Regions from separate parts of the Homo sapiens genome. Here all the other regions are linked to region 1. Evidence: promoter capture Hi-C in human tissues and cell types (Jung and others, 2019). All regions are on one chromosome and are shown on one strand. Each heading gives the region's core, a stretch centred on a gene start or on the middle of the fragment in contact. The rest is flanking DNA. Distances are from core to core; before and after follow the strand shown.

Evidence for each region. The method cuts DNA at HindIII sites, captures the fragments that hold promoters and counts their contacts. A contact is called where the count stands out against the background at its distance.
Region 2: a fragment that was not itself captured here is called in contact with the fragment with the promoter of DDN in region 1 in 2 of the 25 tissues and cell types used here (liver and lymphoblastoid cells).
Region 3: a contact is called between a fragment that was not itself captured here and the fragment with the promoter of DDN in region 1, in 1 of the 25 tissues and cell types used here (spleen).

Annotation. Positions count from the first base shown.
Region 1 is chr12:48,998,003-49,002,059 of GRCh38, reverse strand. DDN (dendrin) reads left to right here and starts at 2,685. Exons shown (of 2, transcript NM_015086.2): 1 at 2,685-2,981; 2 at 3,394-4,057. The coding sequence starts at 2,773. DDN-AS1 (DDN and PRKAG1 antisense RNA 1) reads right to left here and starts at 3,713. Exons shown (of 2, transcript NR_147179.1): 1 at 3,370-3,713. RefSeq lists enhancers at 2,020-2,314, 3,984-4,053 and silencers at 2,460-2,754, 3,404-3,863. The HindIII fragment of the contact is 9,489 bases long and covers 1,855-4,057 here.
Region 2 is chr12:48,843,174-48,847,329 of GRCh38, reverse strand. It overlaps DDX23 (DEAD-box helicase 23), which reads left to right. Exons shown (of 17, transcript NM_004818.3): 2 at 1,548-1,756; 3 at 3,280-3,390. The coding sequence starts at 1,548. Among named protein-coding and RNA genes, the nearest start is that of DDX23, 6.9 kb to the left of the region's middle. The HindIII fragment of the contact is 6,479 bases long and covers 1-4,156 here.
Region 3 is chr12:49,232,322-49,236,134 of GRCh38, reverse strand. It overlaps a transcript of TUBA1C not described here. Among named protein-coding and RNA genes, the nearest start is that of TUBA1C, 31 kb to the left of the region's middle. RefSeq lists a silencer at 1,369-1,658. The HindIII fragment of the contact is 6,126 bases long and covers 1-3,813 here.

The DNA.
Region 1 (4,057 bases), core at 1,436-3,935:
CTGAGTTGGCACTATCTTTTTTTTTTTTTTTTTTTTTTTTTTTGAGATGGAATCTCACTCTGTTGCCCAGGTTGGAGTGCAATGGCGCAATCTCAGCTCACTGCAACCTCCGTCTCCCGGGTTCAAGTGATTCTCCTGCCTCAGCCTCCTGAGTAGCTGGGACTACAGGCGCGCGCCACCACGCCCAGCTAATTTTTGTATTTTTTAGTAAAGACGGAGTTTCACCCATATTGGCCAGGCTGGTCTCGAACTCCTGACCTTGTGATCTACCTGCCTCAGCCTCCCAAAGTGCTGGGATTACAGGCATGAGCCACCGCACCCGGCCAGCACTATCTTTAAACCTACAAATCCCTTGCCTCTTCCAAGGTGAGAATGAGCTGGATGGTGGGAGAACAGCAGGGCAGTGGTCACTCCATCAGATCCATTCCCTGTATTGAAAGCATGTAGACCCAAACAGCAGTCAGCACCCAACATCAGAAGAACTGCTAGACTGGAGTATGAGCTAAATTTGGGTGCCAGCTCACCCCAGCCTTGCAGGTATGATACAGTTTCCCATCCAAGCCAGGAGCAATTTCGGAGTCATTCCTTGCCCCTGCCCCACAGTGCCTAACCCCTCTGATAACCCTCCAGCCAGGGCATACTGGGTTCTCCTGATGGAACACAGGGAAAAGCATCAAGGCCCTCATCAGATTCGACCTGAGGAAGCTTATTTTAAAAAAAGAAGGTGGCCCTCATCAGAGCTCAGCTTTCAGTGTTGCATCATGGCTGTGGAGGAGCCCCTGCTTCTGCCTTCACCCCTTTACAGCTCTCACAGCACATTCTCAACCTTGGGGGAGGAAGGCTTCCAAGTTATTAGAATTAGAGTATGTTTATGTGTCAGGAGGGTAAGCACATGGTGGAAAGGACAGATGGCCCCTTATGTCACATTCCCTCATTAAGGAAGATTTGCCTAGGGAGGAGGCAAGGGCTTTAAAAAGCCTCAGGACTCTAGTGGGACCTAGGGTGGAAGGAAGCATCTTCGAGTCAAGTCATCAGTGCAGCTGGCAGGTGTGTGGAATCAAGGGGGGTAGGGTGGATGGGACGGGATGTTTGCGTTCTCTCTAAAGGTTTGTGTTAGGGAGCAGAGACCTGGTTTTGTTGAGTTGTTTCTCAGTCTGTCAGTCTCTGCCCCACAACCTTTCTGGTTGTTCCCCATCCCCTTAAAAGGAAGGGTCTGGACCCAAAGGGCTCCATGTACATTAGTGGAAAACTAATTGGGAACTCTTGCTTCTCCCATTTCCCTCTAAAACCCAACCTATCCGTCTCAGTGTGAGGATGAAGCTGAGGGAGAGACAAGGGATGAAATTTGGGAGACTCACAAGCTTCTATTCTTACCTATTCCTCTCCAGAGAGGCAAATTATCCCTTCTTCCCGAGGAACCATGCCCCACACACTCTCCCCTCTCTCTGCACTGCTCCCCTCCACTGAAGCTGCTGCCATGGTTGCCAGGCATGGTTGCTAAGTCTCTGCATGGAAGGGTTGGCGTGGGCTGTGCTGCCACTAACATTACCATGGTGAATCAGGGGACACCTGGTATAAGCTTAGGAGGAGGGATCATGTGGATATAAGCAACAGCCCCCCAGGACAGAGGCAGCCCAAAAGGTGAGCATCTGGAGCACCACTTAAGGTGGGGACTGAGTGAACTAGGCATTGTGGTGGTGGTGAGGGGGAGTTCTACATTGAAAAAAATAAAGGCCACTTTTATCATTTCAGTTGCTAGGGGATTAGTTTTGCCAAGCAAACACATCATTTCTCCTCCATCCCCCTCTGGAAGGGTGAGAGTGCATAAGCACTTACTCTGTCCTCCATAAAGCTGGGCAGGCTGTGTGGGCACAGAACAATATAACCCCCAAATCCTGGCTTCTGGATTGGAGGTGAAAGCCTGCTGCTGTGGGAGGGCTCCCTGGCTGCCCAAGGACAAACATGTAGAATGGAACTGGTAGGGCAGCTTGGGTGGCCAAGGCAGACGCCTGTGTCCTGCTGTACCAGCAGTCCTAGGCTGCAGCACTGAGCTGACAAGGAGATACGGGTGTAGGGGTCACCCTTTTTGAGCTTAGGGAAGGCAGCTCTCCCTCAGAGTCGCACAAAAGCTTGGTAAAAGCCACCGCCTCCTCTCTCCACCGCATGGGAGCTGGTTACTCATCTCATCTCTGCACCCGAACAGCCACTGCCGCTAAAAATAGCCCCCCAGCCGTGGGCCAGCCCCTCCTGCACCCCAGCCCCATGGAAACCAGCAGAGTGGCAGGCAGAGACCTTGAGTTCCAATCTCATCACTCTATGTTGGGGAAACTGAAATCTGAGGCAGGAAGCCAGGGGCAGAACCCTGGTGGTCAGGCAACCTGACAAGCAGGAGAGTAAAGGGTTAAAACGGCAGGAAGGTTGAAGAAATAGGGGCGGGGGAGGGGGCACTGTCAGCTTGGCAAGAATCATAAGTCCCTCCCCCGCCCACTCGTGCGATCCCATCAGGCTTGGGGGACAACAGCAGTGGGAAGGGGCGTCCAATCCCGGGCCCCAGGGGGCGGCCGTGCACATGGGGGAGGTAGCAGCGCGGAGCAGTCCGCGCGGTGTCACATGCGCGCGCACACACAGAGACAGGCACACACACGTGTGCCCGGGTATATATAGTTCCCAGTCCCCGGGCCCGCGGCTCTGCAGTGGGCGCCGGCTCCCTGGGCTGGGAGGGGGCTCCTGGGGCGGGTGGGAGGGTGGGGGGCCGGGGTGGGGTGGGGCAGGATGCTGGATGGCCCACTGTTCTCCGAGGGGCCTGACAGCCCCCGGGAGCTCCAGGATGAGGAGTCTGGCAGCTGCCTCTGGGTGCAGAAGTCCAAGCTATTGGTGATAGAAGTGAAGACTATTTCCTGTCATTATAGTCGCCGCGCCCCTTCTCGACAGCCCATGGACTTCCAGGCCAGCCACTGGGCTCGCGGGTTCCAGAACCGCACGTGAGTGAAGCAGGGGTGAGGGGAAGAGAGTGGTGGGGCGGGGAGTGGGGTCCGGACCTCCCCGCAGGCACCAGCGAGCACTGCTGGTCCCCCTTCTCTTTCCCACGCCTTCCACCTCTGCCCGCTCCCGAGGGCTGGGGCCTGACTCATCCCGTTGTTTGGGGGAACAGAAGTGGGTGTGAGAAAGGGCAGGAGGTGAGATGGGGCAGACGCTGTTAAAGTGTGCATGGAGAGATGGCGAGGAGTCCCGCTTCGACTTCAGTCCTAACATATACGCACGTGCACACGCGCACACACTCACACACACCCCTTCACATGGCTGCCCCAAGTGGTCTCCAGTGCTCCCAGCTCCCCGGACCTCGGCTCCCTTCCCCCACAAACTGCTCACCTGGGTTCCTGCTCATTGTCCCAGGTGTGGGCCGCGCCCGGGATCCCCACAGCCGCCGCCCCGCCGGCCCTGGGCCTCCAGGGTGCTGCAGGAGGCGACCAACTGGCGGGCGGGGCCCCTGGCCGAGGTCCGAGCTCGGGAGCAAGAGAAAAGGAAAGCGGCGTCGCAGGAGCGGGAGGCCAAGGAGACCGAGCGAAAAAGGCGCAAGGCTGGTGGGGCCCGACGGAGCCCCCCGGGTCGACCCCGCCCGGAGCCCCGCAACGCCCCTCGGGTGGCCCAGCTGGCAGGGCTCCCTGCTCCCTTGCGGCCGGAGCGCCTGGCGCCTGTGGGGCGAGCGCCCCGTCCATCCGCGCAGCCGCAGAGCGACCCAGGGTCGGCGTGGGCGGGGCCCTGGGGAGGTCGGCGGCCCGGGCCCCCAAGCTACGAGGCTCACCTGCTGCTGAGAGGTTCTGCCGGGACCGCCCCACGACGCCGCTGGGACCGGCCGCCACCCTACGTGGCTCCACCTTCTTACGAAGGCCCCCATAGGACCTTGGGGACTAAGAGAGGCCCCGGGAACTCTCAGGTGCCCACTTCATCAGCCCCAGCTGCGACTCCAGCCAGGACAGACGGAGGGCGCACAAAGAAGAGGCTGGATCCTCGGATCTACCGGGACGTCCTCGGGGCTTGGGGTCTCCGACAGGGGCAA
Region 2 (4,156 bases), core at 1,631-4,130, 150 kb after region 1:
TTGGCCAGGATGGTCTCAATCTCCTGACCTCATGATCTGCCCGCTTTGGCCTCCAAAAGTGCTAGGATTACACGGTGAGCCACCATGCCCAGCCCAAGACATAGGTATTTCTGTGTGATAGCCATGATGTACTGATACAGAACAATCAGTCATTTCTCAGGTGATTGTGAGATAAAATGGGTTGTCCTCACCTTTTGAAAGTGCTTCTTGTTCATTTTTCTTTTCTCATCTTTATACAATCTTTCTTAAGGATATATGGCAGGGAATGGCATGAGAAAGGGGCTTGTAAGCTAAAGCTTAAGGAACCATTCGAGCTGAACCATTTGGGGATAAAATAAGTTGCGAGAAATGTATCCCAAGTCTTTGGGATGATGATGAGGTGGTTGCAGATTCAGGCTTGCTGCAGTTTTAGCTCCTGGCTGAACTAGAGTTCATAGCCCAAAGAAGAGTTGACAGTGTGGGAGTGGTGTTCGGTGTCTCCCAGGTAGGAGGGAGACAGAAAAAATTCCTGCTGAAACCTTTCACAAAACTGGGTTATGCAGATGACCAAGGTTGTGAAAATCTGAATAGGGAATGTCAATCAGGACTTCTGCAACCTCTAGTTTTGGGTATTTAAAATATATATCTTTGAAATAATTATAGTTTCACAGGAAGTTAAAAAATGTGTATAGAGGTTCTGTGTACCCTTCACCAAGTTCTTCCCATTGCATAATTAGAGGTACATTTCTTTTAATCTGAGTAAAAGTGTGTTTCTCCACTTAAATTCAGGTTTTCCTTGTGGTGCTAATTATAACGTAATCCAGATCTCAAAGTTAAACTTTTTTCTCCATTGAGCTTTCTTTATGAGCTCAAGAAAATTTATCTCTCTCAGACGTATGAGTGCTAACTGATCCTAGTGGGTTGGCAGACCTAATAAACTTCAAAGTAAGCAATATAGGATGTTTCTAGAAATAGTTGGTACACTGTTCATACACTAACACTTCTTTTAATACTCTTTTGTAGTCTAATTACAAAAACATGGTATATTCACTGTACATATTTAGAAATGAATATATAAAAAGGAATCGACCAGGCACTGTGGCTCACGCCTGTAATCTCAGCCTTTTAGAGGCTGAGGCAGGAGGATTGCTTGAGGTCAGGAATTTAAGACCAGCCTGGGCAGCATAGTGAGACCCTGTCTATAAAAAAAATAAATTAGCTAGGCAAGGCAGGAGGATGGCTTGAGCCCAGGAAGTTGAAGCTGCAGTGACCTATGATTGCACCACTGCACTCCAGCCTGGGTGACAGAGTGAGACTCTGAAAGGAATTACAGGGAGACAATATAGTGAGTAACGATGGCCTGTGGAGCCAGACTGCCTGCAACTCTGCCACTACCTGTCTGCCCTCAGACAAGTTCCTTTATATACCTGAGCTCCACCGTTCTCATCTGTACGGTAGACATACTAATATATCCACCTCATAGGGTTGTTTTGAGGGTAATTGAATTATATATAAGCAGTTTAGAGCAGTGCCTAGTACATTGTAAGTACTCTTCCTACTCATTACAGATGGCAGGAGAGCTGGCTGACAAAAAGGACCGTGATGCATCACCTTCCAAGGAGGAAAGGAAGCGATCACGGACTCCTGACAGAGAGCGGGATAGAGACCGGGACCGGAAGTCTTCCCCATCTAAAGATAGAAAGCGGCATCGTTCAAGGGATAGACGTCGAGGAGGCAGCCGTTCTCGCTCTCGTTCCCGTTCCAAATCTGCAGAAAGGTAAAGTAACTTTGTATGTTATTACATGGGAAGGGAGAGTACGTTTCAGATTTCTTCCTTCTTGGTTCTTCTGATGCCTCCAGTATTAGGCATCTACTTTTTATTTTTATTTTTTGAGACAGAGTCTCGCTCTGTTTGTTACCCAGACTGGAGTGCAGTGGTGCGATCTCAGCTCACTGCAAGCTCCGCCTCGCAGGTTCACGCCATTCTCCTGCCTCTGCCTCCTGAGTGCGTAGCTGGGACTACAGGCGCCCGACACCATGCCCGGCTAATGTTTTTGTATTTTTAGTAGAGATGAGGTTTCACCGTGTTAGCCAGGATGGTCTCGATCTCCTGACGTGATCTGCCTGCTTCAGCCTCCCCAAGTGCTGAGATTATAGGCGTGAGCCACCGCGCCTGGCCTTTTTTTTTTTTTTTTTAAAAGATGGAGTTTCACTCTTGTTTCCCAGGCTGGAGTGCAATGGCACGATCTCGGCTCACTGCAACCTCTGCCTCCCAGGTTCAAGCAATTCTCCTGCCTCAGCCTCCCGAATAGCTGGGATTACAGGCATGTGCCACCACACCTGGCTAATTTTGTACTTTTAGTAGAGACGGGGTTTCTCCACGTTGGTCAGGCTGATCTCAATCTTCCGACCTCAGGTGATCCACCCACCTCAGCTTCCCAAAGTGCTGGGATTACGGGCGTGAGCCACCACGCCCGGCTAGGCATCTACTTTTTGTACATTAATCTACTCCTAGCCCAGTTGGACCTGCAGGTGTTTTCAGTTTTCCTCAGTGACCCAACTCTTAAAAGTTGAGAGGGGGCCGGGCGCGGTTGGTTCACGCCTGTAATCCCAGCACTTTGGGAGGCCGAGGCAGGTGGATCACGAGGTCAGGAGATCGAGACCATCCTGGCTAACACAGTGATACCTGATCTCTACTAAAAATAAAAAAAAAAAAAGTTGAGAGGGAACTAGTAAGGTGAAGGTCCGGGTTATCAAGGAAGGTTCATCTGTGGCCGGGCGCGGTGGCTCATACCTATAATCCCAGCACTTTGGGAGGCCGAGGTAGGTGGATTACTTGAGGTGAGGAGTTTGAGAGCAGCCTGGCCAACATGGCAAAACCCCGTCTCTACTAAAAATACAAAAATTAGCCAGGCATGGTGGTGCACATCTGTAATCCCAGCTACTCGGGAGGCTGAGGCATGACAATTCCTTGAACTCGGGAGGCAGAGGCTGCAGTGAGCCGAGATCACACCACTGCACTCCAGCCTGGGCGTGAGAGTGAGACTCCATCTCAAAAAAATAAAAAAGGAAGGTTCATCTGTTCACATAGTCCGTGACCTGTCATTGCCGTTAATATTTAACAGTACATCTCTGATCTATAAAAGCTTCTTAGAATTCCCTCGTTATTTCCGTGAGAGATACATTCTCTAATTTGTAAAACATTACTTTGGGACGAGAGTATAGGAACTTTCTCAGGGCTGCAGTGAAGCAAGATACTTTGGAAATACCAAGTGAACTCTTAAATTTGCGGTCTTCCAGAGAACGACGGCACAAAGAACGAGAACGAGATAAGGAGCGGGATCGGAATAAGAAGGACCGAGATCGAGACAAGGATGGGCACAGACGGGACAAGGACCGTAAACGATCCAGGTACATGAAGGAATGAGAGGGGGCTTTAGGGGAATGCTCCCATTTCTTCTCTGCACCTGAGTTTGCTCAGCTTCTTATGAAAGTAGATTTCTCGCCAGGCGTGGTGGCTCACGCCTGTAATCCCAGCACTTTGGGAGGCTGAGGCTGGTGGATCACGAAGTCAGGAGATCGAGACCATCCTGGCTAACATGGTGAAACCCCGTCTCTACTAAATATACAAAAAATTAGCCGGGCGTGGTGGCGGGTGCCTGTAGTCCCAGCTACTCAGGAGGCTGAGGTAGGAGAATGGCGTGAACCCGGGAGGCGGAGCCTGCAGTGAGTCGAGATCACGCCACTGCACTCCAGCCTGGGCGACAGAGCAAGACTCTGTCTCAAAAAAAAAAAAAAAAAAAGAAAGAAAGAAAGTAGATTTCTCTTAACAGATTCTGTTGGTAGTTATTACAGAGCTCTCTTTCTTATTTATTTTTATTTATTTTTTTGAGGCAGGGTCTCTTTTGCCCAGGCTGGAGTGCAGTGGTGTGATCACAACTTACTGCAGCCTTGACTCCCCCAGGCTTAGGTGATCCACCCACCTCAGCCTCCTGAGTAGCTGGACTACAGGCATCTGCCACCAGATTTTGTTTTTTTTGGGTTTTTTTTTTTTTAATTGATCATTCTTGGGTGTTTCTTGCAGAGGGGGATTTGGCAGGGTCACAGGACAATAGTGGAGGGAAGGTCAGCAGATAAACAAGTGAACAAAGGTCTCTGGTTTTCCTAGGCAGAGGAC
Region 3 (3,813 bases), core at 703-3,202, 230 kb before region 1:
GGCAGGGCTTCATGATCTTATATCAAACCGTGGCAAGGCCACATTTTAACATCTCCCTACTCCCAGATTAATTTCATTTCTGTCACCCTCTTCACCTTGGAAACTCCTCCCATTCAGCAAAATCAGAAGCATTCAGAATAAGCACATTGTGATTTCTGTCCCTGAAACCCGCTGTGTGCACTGATGGAAAGCATAGTTTTAGTTTGTAGCCCTGTGCCCGTGGGCCGGTGGAGGAAATTAAATGAGTTGAGCCTCAGGTTTTCCTCAGAGACCAGCAATGTAACAAATGACGACTCATTGAGGCCCGAGGGCTCCTCAACACAGGCCACTTTCTTGCAGAGAGTCAGCCTGGTCTCTTTTTATTTTTTAAAAACTATGTAAGATTTTTTTTTTTTTTTTTTTGAGACCGAGTCTCACCCTGTCACCCAGGCTGGAGTGCAACTTTCGCCTCCCAGGCGAACTGTAACTTTCGCCTGCCAGGTTCAAGCAATTCTGCCTCAGCCTCCCGAGTAGCTGGAATTACAGGCGCGCACCACCAGGCCCAGCTACTCTTTGTATTTTTAGTAGAGACGGGGTTTCACCATGTTGGCCAGACTGGTCTCAAACTCCTGACCTCAGGTGATCCACCTGCCTCGGCCTCCCAAAGTGTTGGGATTACAGGTGTGAGCCACTGCGCCCAGCCTGGTCCAGCCAAGGTGCCAGCGAGTCTCTCCTGGACAAAAAATGGGGCGCTGACCTGCAACCCCGACACCTTTCCGGAAAGGGCCTTGCAGCGGCGCGGCGCGTCCAGCAGATGGCGCCCCAGCTGAATTTTCGCGAGCTGTCCTCCAAGCTTGCAGAAAAATCTGGAACTAACAGGAAGGGGAATTTTTTTTTTTTTTAAGCATTCTAATTTTCAACCTATACTGCCTTTTTGTCCGTGTCAGGAGCCCTTTTTATTCGAATAAGTTGCAATGCATTTGAGATGTCTAAAAGACTTTTTGATTACGCAATCCCAAATTAATTTTTTTTTTTTTTTTGGCCGGGCGCAGTCGCTCACGCCTGTAATCCCAGCACTTTGGGAGGCCGAGGCGGGCGGATCACGAGGACAGGAATTCGAGACCAGCCTGACCAACATGGTGAAACCCCGTCTCTACTAAAAATACAAAAATCAGATGGGCGTGGTGGCGGGTGCCTGTAATCCCAAATACTCGGGAGTCTGAGGCAGGAGAATCGCTTGAATCTGGGAGGCGGAGGTTGCAGTGAGCCGAGATCGCGCCAGTGCACTCCAGCCTGGGCAACAAAAGCAATACTCCGTCTCCAAAAAGAAAATTTTTTTTAGGATGTCCACTCTTCCAAAAGACCCAAGAGGGAGGTTTTCAAACAGCATTAATTGTCACAAGAGTTCAGAAACTTTCGCGGACAGCGATATGTGAAGAAAGGCCGCTTCTAAACAGCAGGGCGTGGCGGGGGCGCGCTCGCCGGGCCGCGGCGGAAGTGGCCTTCGTGGCGGGCGGGGCGGCGGCTGCGGCCTGGAGATAGCGCCGCCTGCTGGTCACCGGGGACAGAGCGCTCGGGGCTCGCCAGGACTGCGGCGCCACGCGGGTGGGAGCCCGAGCCCAGGCCCAGGCCCTGGCGCTGCACGTCACCGTACTAACCAAGGAAGCAAAGTCATGGACACAACCACAGCCTCCTTTCTGCTCTGCAGAGAAACCTGGAAGCCTACTCTGGTTTGGAGAGTAGTGTTTCAACGAACTTAACGGTTTTTAGCGCTTGCCACAGCTAAACAGGGTGGACTTGATTTTTAGGGTGTCCTTGTTATTTAAGACAATGCTAAAGGAGAATGAAAATTAGAACCTGGTAGGGGACTGCTTTCATTTATTCTCTCCTGCTTTAATGGGATTTACAACATATTAAAAGCAGTTATCAGAGGCAAATTGGATAAATGGGCTAGGGGTTGCGTTTCAAGGTGGAGGCGTTTGTCATTTCTGACTGTGGCCCCTCGTTTTTATTCCAGGATCGTTGCAGTGCCATTTCTAGGTCCCTCCTCCTCTCCCCACTTCCCTTTTCTCTGCACCCATTTGACAGGAGCCTCTGCAATCATCTGCTTATTGCGCGTCACCGTCATCCAGTGGGAGAGCCTTGTGGTACCACCTTTCTCCACCTATGGCTGCGGCCCGCAGGAAGATGACGGGTTGCGCTTCTGCTCTGGAGCCAGCCCTGTTGCCGGGAACTGCAACCCGCAAGATGATGCCAGAGCTCAGCTTCCCTCTTTTTATGTTGCAGAGTTTATGCTGCCCTGCACTGAGCAGACGCTTTCGCTTACGCAGCCCTGCCCTTCACCTTGCCCAGTGATTCCGGAATAACCTTCCGGACCCTCCTACTTGCAGAGGTTCGTTGCTTCAAGCGTCATAATCATTCATCTCCGTTTTTCCTCTAGTGATGAAGGCTCGTGGACGGACCACGGTTCACTCGGTCTAGGAGTCACGCTGTTGATCAGGTTGTCAGACATCAAAATTCCCATCTCCCATCAGGGCACAGCTATAGGGCTCTGGGTCAAAACAGGGCCTTCTCTTTTGTCTGGTAGCACCAGAAACACGGTAATTGGGAACCCATCAGGAATGGAAGGCTCCTTGAGGCCCTGGAGATGGAATGTTGGGCCCCCAAGTCCTGAAAGGAACCAGTGGGGCTGTAATCTTCACAATCTGGATCCAGCCAGAAGAGCACTGAGAGCTCAGTGTTTGGAGGACAAAAAAGGGCAATGGATATACAGTAACTTAGTGAATCAGGGCCCGGATCCAGGAAGATGCCTGACATTTGTTTATCAGCAGAGAAACAGAAGTAAAGGAGGGGAACCTTCTCCTAAGTGTTACTGTGTTATGAAAGTGTCCTTCAGGGAGAGGCGACATGAACAGGGCAGCTGATAACGTTGATACTGTGCAGGCACACATCTCCCCACATTCCCCAGGCTGCTGAACCAAGTGTACCAAACTAATCGCAAGGACACAGCTTTGAGCCTCCCCGGCGGCAGTCCCTGGAGAGAGTCCGCTCAGACAAAGCAAAGCGCGCTCCCAGCGGGGAGGGGTGGCCACTTTTTCTTTGTTCTCCCTTGGAAAATCGGCTGTCTCTCAAGTCTCGTAAACCAGCTGCTTTCACTTCTTGCAGGGGGTCAAAATCAATTAATCACCAATCATGTTTGGACAGCACAGTTTTGAAGCCCTGAACTCTGTGAAATGCAGGGTCAAACTATTTTTAGAATTTTAACATGCCGTTAAGTTTGTATTCTGAGTTTCCCAGCAAAAATTTCTGAAATGTGCCCCACTTTGAAAAAATAAAATAAAAAGAACACCTCCAGAAAAAAGGTGGTGGAGACAGAGTGTTTGGGATTGTACTTAACCCCAAAACGACAAGTCATACATCTTACACTTAGGAATCTCTTCTTCACAGAAGTATAAGTTACTGAGCAGATATCTTTGCCTGCTGAGAAGCCCCTTCAGCAGTAAAAGGGAGAGCTCTCTGAGAAACCTCAACTTTCTACATTATAAGTGATATTTTTTTCTCATAAGAAGGATTTAACATAGCGCCTTTTTAAAAATTCAGAATTGCCTATCCCTGATTTAAGTGGGGGATCAAGACAAAGGGTGCCTGACTTCTGTATCAGGAATAGGCGTGCCACTCCCCAAGCACTTGGAGCATCTGCTGCCTGGGCTGATTCTTAAACCGAAATCCACACGTGGCTTGACAGCTGAAGTGCCCTTTTATGTCCAGTTGGAATTTCATGTTGGGCAGGCTGCAATGAGTTCATATCCAAACAGAAAATGGGTTCTGTGGGTC